2 separate regions of the Homo sapiens genome follow, and region 2 is linked to region 1. Evidence: promoter capture Hi-C in human tissues and cell types (Jung and others, 2019). All regions are on one chromosome and are shown on one strand. The core of a region is centred on a gene start or on the middle of the fragment in contact, and the rest is flanking DNA. Distances in the headings are between cores, read along the strand shown.

What was found. The method cuts DNA at HindIII sites, captures the fragments that hold promoters and counts their contacts. A contact is called where the count stands out against the background at its distance.
Region 2: a fragment that was not itself captured here is called in contact with the fragment with the promoter of MCM10 in region 1 in 1 of the 25 tissues and cell types used here (heart left ventricle).

What each region holds. Positions count from the first base shown.
Region 1 is chr10:13,160,180-13,163,159 of GRCh38, reverse strand. MCM10 (minichromosome maintenance 10 replication initiation factor) reads right to left here and starts at 1,602. Exons shown (of 20, transcript NM_018518.5): 1 at 1,554-1,602. RefSeq lists silencers at 1,338-1,517, 1,540-1,853. The HindIII fragment of the contact is 5,218 bases long and covers 669-2,980 here.
Region 2 is chr10:13,518,091-13,521,070 of GRCh38, reverse strand. The region is part of intron 2 of BEND7 (BEN domain containing 7); the gene reads left to right. Among named protein-coding and RNA genes, the nearest start is that of BEND7-DT, 9.0 kb to the left of the region's middle. The HindIII fragment of the contact is 3,108 bases long and covers 1-2,980 here.

The DNA.
Region 1 (2,980 bases), core at 353-2,852:
GCCATGTTGCCCAGGCTGGTCTTGAACTCCTGATGTCAAGTGATCCATCAGCCTTGGACTCCCAAAGGTGCTTTTTTTTTTTTTTGAGACGGAGTCTCTGTCACCCAGGCTGGAGTGCAATGGGGCGATCTTGGCTCACTGCAAGCTCCGCCTCCCGGGTTCACGCCATTCTCCTGCCTCAGCCTCCCGAGTAGCTGGGACTACAGGCGCCCGCCACCACGCCCGGCTAATTTTTTGTATTTTTAGTAGAGATGGGGTTTCACCGTATTAGCCAGGATGGTCTCGATCTCCTGACCTGGTGATCCGTCCGCCTTGGCCTCCCAAAGCGCTGGGATTACAGGCGTGAGCCACCGCGCCTGGCCGCTTTTTAAAAATTCATTCAACCAACATTTCCACGGATCCCTCATGTGCCACACACTGTGCTATCTACTGGGGAACCTATTGGACAGTAAGCTTCCTGAGCGTTAGGAGCAAACTGTCTCGTTCAAGTCTGTAACCGGCCTTGCCTTCCCCCAAAATGAAACTGTGCACCCTCCCTCGCCCTCAAATCCACGGCCACTGACAAGTACTGTGGTCCCATCTCCAAAACACTGCTCAAATCTGCCACTTCTCTCCAACTTCACTGCCAGAACCCTAGGCCAAGCCACCGTCAACCTTTAACCCAATGACTGTGTTAGCTTTCTATGTTGGTCTCTTTGTCCCCGTGCAATCTGTTCTGCATACGACAGCCACGGTAATCTTCCCTTTCCTTAGTAACCTTTAGGAACATAAATCAGATCATGGGGGTCCCTTCATTGAAATTCTTTAATGATTTTCCATTGCCCTTAGAAAAAATCTACAAAGCCTGCGAGGCAATGATTCATATTCTCTCTCTCTTTCCAAGCTTTCTACTCCCTCACATTTTCCACAATCCACCACGTCCAATTCTACCCACCCCGACACCCATAACGATGCTCCAGCCGGGCCAGCCCGCTTCCACCTTCTGGAACACACTAAGCTGCTTTGAGGTCTCAGGCTCTGTCGAAGAAAGCTCCCCCCAGGTCCTTCTCGCCCTTCGGTCTCCACTTACTCATCTTTCTGAGACTTTCTGGACCACCCTGAGTCGTCCACTGTCGTGCATTTGTTTACTACCTGCTCGTGCCTTTAAACTGTAAGCGCTGTGAAGGCAGCGGAAATGTGATCCGAGCCATGCACACCGTCCGCATTCAATAATCATTGGCAAATCATGAATACGAGAAACCAATGAATGAATGAATGAATGAATGAATAAAAGAAAGCCCAGGCGGCAGGCACTTGGCAAGCACTTAAAAGGCTGCGTTTAAAAGGAAGAACCCGATTCCTTAGTAGACGGCCAGCAACTCCCAGCCCCCGGCCCGGCCATGCCAGCTCCGAGCGGTCCCAAGCTGCCGCCAAATCCAGATCGCGCCCACCCGAGCTCCCGGGACCCCGCGCCTCTAGCCTCGGACCCCTTGCAACCCGCGCAGAGACGTGCGAGGCGGCCCCGGCCCCGCCGCCCGAGGGTCACACGCACGCCCGGGGCCCGCGCTCCTCACCCGATGCCGGGACGCCTTCTTCGTTCACAGCTGAACCCGCCAAAATTCCAACCGGATCCCGCCCCTGCCTTGACGTCAGACGCACGCGGCTGTGGGGCAGCACTGACTGGCTACGCCAGCGAATCCCGGCCCTGGCACAGAGCAATCGGATTGGTTTACGTCATTGGACGCCCTCTTTGTTGGGGGCAAGGGACCTTCCTGTCGGTAGAAGCCAGTCTCCTTTAGGTAAAATAGAGTGTCTGGCGCCCCCTGGTGCCGGGAAGTTTAAGTCATCCCACCCAGTATTTTCCCTGCGGTCCCATCCCACCTCAACTCCTGACGCTCTGGGACCGACTGTTCCTTTGTCAGCCTTATGTCCATTCGAAATGTTTGGGCTCAGGACCAAACAGATCCGGTCCACTTTTACCCTGTCTGACCTTGGGGAAGTGACTTATCTCTCTGAGTTTCCCCTTCACCATCTGTGCAGTGAGGGAAAGGGTAGATGACATCTTTTACACTGAAACCACCATTTCCCGAGTAATTCCTGTTCCATAGATTTTGGGACTTCTAAGGGGCGTCAGGGCTGAAGAGAACTTATCAGCAGACCATATCTTTCACAGATTTTTTTTTCAGTAAAATTCAGGCCTCTTTATGTATTTACATTCTAAAAAATAGTGTTTGTACATAATACTAAGAACATAGTTTCTAAATGCAGAATAACATTTAGCTTTTACATAATTTCAAGGGATTGATAGCAGAAGAGACTTTGATGGACCAAATGGCCACTTTAAGTCTTTCCCCCCTTTTCCTCCTTGCAGACACTGTTCAGGCACTGCAGTTCCCCCACTAATAATCCCTTTGGTATAAGATCCTATCTCTATCCACTACGTACTTTCATTTTCAGAACAATTAAAATCGACTTTAGGAAGACTGAAGATAAACAGTCCTGATGCCATCTACGTTGACTTTTTTCTGTGTCCTAATGGAATATTACTGCTCCATTTATGAGCTCAGCCCTATTACTTAAACCTATATTGGCTCAGGAATAGGAATACAACCATTTCTGAGAGCTGCTAGTGTTAAAAATTCATAGTAATGGAGGAACTCTAGTAATCAAATTGAAAAAGTATGTTTAAATGCGTACTTTTAAACATACGGCACTAAGGCCGGGCACGGTGGCTCACCCCTGTAATCCCAGCACTTTGGGAGGCCGAGGTGGGTGGATCACGAGGTTAGGAGTTCGAGACCAGCCTGGCCAACATGGTGAAACCCCATCTCTACTAAAAACACACACAACACAAAAATTAGCTGGGCGTAGTGGTGCGCGTCTGTAATCCCAGCTACTTGGGAGGCTGAGGCGGAGAATCGCTTGAACCTGGGAGGTGGCGATTGCAGTGATGAGCCGAGATCTCGCCACTGCACTCCAGCCTGGCGACAGAGCCAGACTC
Region 2 (2,980 bases), core at 197-2,696, 360 kb before region 1:
GTTTTAAAACTCCTGGTCTAGACAGTTCCCAAGGCTTCATACAGCACCTGATTTGTCCGATTATACTCTAGGACCGAAAAATGGCTTCAAAAATAATTGCAAGCAAAGTCAAAGTTTGGAGAGCCTCTTGAGGGAACTTAAATACCGATGGCTTCTTTCAATTTATGTGCACATAAACATATGTTTCGGTAGCTGTGGATGCAGAACTTGGTCGTTCTCACGTATGACTTGTTGCCTAAAGTCTGGGAGGCATTTGTAGTTAGGCCATCCGGGCACTCCATCTCTCATTTAGTTTCTATTGCAGCTACACTGTGAGGTTGCTGTTGGGTCGGCCTCATGTTTTACAAATGGGAACCTCAACTCAGGGATGAAAGTGATTTGCCCAAGGCTACATGGTCATTAGTAGCTGACCACACTTTCCAGTGGGGTCTCCTGACATCCACTTCTGAGTTCTTCACCTTGTCAGAGCTGCCACAGCTCCTTGCTCCAATCTGCCCACGTGGGCTGATCTCAGTACGTAACTTCTCACCCTCTCTCCTGCTTAGAGACTTCAGCTCCCTTGTCATGGGCCTAGAATCAAGGCAAAGCCCTTCACTGAGTGTCTAGTATGCACGGTCTGACCCGACCCATCTCCCTGTCCACAGCTTTCATGTAACCGCCTTCCCTTGAGCCAACCGGCTTCCTAAACCAGGACTTCCAGGTGCAGAGGAGGCACCACAGGGAGAAGGAATGGGGTGGGCAGGAGCTATGGCCTGGGAAAGCCCCTCCTGCTGGGAAGAAAGGAGCTAGGGCTTGTTTACTGCCTCCGGTGTGTGCTGGGCACTTCCGAACTTTATCTCATTTAACACTGAGACCAGCTCTGAGAAGGTATTGTCATTTCTACTTTTATATGAGAAAAATGGGCCTTTAGAATTGTTAATGTACGTAAGGTCATAGAACTAGGAGACAAGAGCCTGGATCTGGAATTTGGACATGGCCTGGCCACGATCTTTCCACTGTACCATGCTGCCTTGGAGGAGTGAGGCCCCGCTCTCCTCTCTCTTTCAGTTCGCTGTCTGTTTCTAAACCGCCCTTCCAGCCTTCTCTTGCTCTTCACCCTCACTGAAAACATGTGCTGTGTCAAACTGATCACATCATTCCCTCCTAAAGCACCTTCCCATTCTCATCTCTGCCATTTCACTGCGGCTCCTTCTCCATCCTAGCCTCCTACCATTCCTTACCCCATTTCCAAACTCCTTCTAGTAAAATCCTGTCTCTCCTATCGGTTTTTAAAGCTCAATTCAAATATTACCTTGGCCTGTAAGCCGCCTCAGTTTACATAGCGTAGCAGAGAGAAGTTGGATTTAGAGTCAGAAAACCTTGCTTTGAATCTCAGGCTCCAGTTCTAACACCTTGGATAACACTCTTGAGGGGTTTTCCTCATCTTCTGTAATAGAAGAATAACGTTGGCCCTCCTGACGCACATGCGAAATCCTGTATGGTAAAACGCTTTTTCAAACTGGAAAACACTGTATTTCTGTTTTTATTACCCCATTCTCTCTCCTTCTCCCAGATTTAGGAGTTATCTTTTCTTTTTTTTTTTCTTTCTTTTTTTTGAGACGGAGTCTCGCTCTGTTGCCCAGGCTGGAGTGCAGTGGCGCCATCTCGGCTCACTGCAAGCTCCACCTCCCGGGTTCACGCCATTCTCCTGCCTCAGCCTCCCGAGTAGCTGGGACTACAGGTGCCCGCCACCACACCCGGCTAATTTTTTTGTATTTTTTTTAGTAGAGACGGGGTTTCACCATGTTAGCCAGGATGGTCTCGATCTCCTGACCTCGTGATCCACCTGCCTCAGCCTCCCAAAGTGCTGGGATTACAGGCGTGAGCCACCGTGCCCAGCCTAGGAGTTATCTATTCTTCCGATCACTTGGGCACTAAGTAATAACATTACTCTTTTCTGGCACTTACCATGTGATGCCTAATATTTACTTATTTTTGTGTGTGGCTTTATTGTGCTCAAGTCACCCTGCAGATCCTCCTCCGAAACTTAACAGCTGCCACATTGAAATGTGGTTGTTTATTTTCAGGACTCTCCTAATCGCTCCTAATGTAAATTGTCAGATCCTAGAGGGCAAATGTGACCTGAGTTCATTTTGGATCCTTTGAGAACCTAGCACAATGCTGTATCCGTAATAGGTACTCTGCTGATAGGTCCTCAGATATGTGATTTAAATGCATGAATATATTGGACACTGTCGTTAGGACTCTGAAGATTTATTGTAAAGTATACTGCTATATTGAGATTTTAGAGACATTTAGTGAGCCAAACTAAAAGATGCCTCATTTAACTTTAAGCTTCTGTAACATACTAGAGTAGAAATTTGGGATTTCTGATGTTGATTTGTGAGATACAACTTCTTTTTTCAAATCCAGAAGACACCGAAAAGGAGAACTCACATATGAAAGCCAGTGACATGTTGGAAACCAAAATTGGAAAATCACATTTGTTCTGCTTGTTCCTTATTCTGCTCTAACACAGGTACAGCTTTAGAAAGGTGCTTAAGATAGCGCTGGCCCATCTGTAAACTGATGTTGACATTGTTGACTTCTCAGATTTCACATGAAGCAAGCTTTTCTACCTTAATTTAAGGACATAAAGCCATGTATTAAAGATCACACCAACAAACCTTAGTGCCTGTCGGGTTTCTGAGGGAGTTGGGCCCCTGCACACAGCCACCGAAGTTGTACCTGCCCAAGGGGGCCCTGTGAGGGGCCAGTGGGGCTGACATGCAGCCTGCAGCCTGCTCGCCACGGCCCGCATGGGGGCAGCAGCTGTCCTGGGGAAAAGCCACCTCTTTCTGTTTCTCAGGAAGGCTCATTGTGGTTCAGCAACTGCCCTATAAATGAAAAGTGTGATATATTGTGGTCTTTTACTTTTCTTACACTGGTCATGACCAAATCATTGAAAAAAAATAATAAATTCATGAAGGATAGAATCTAA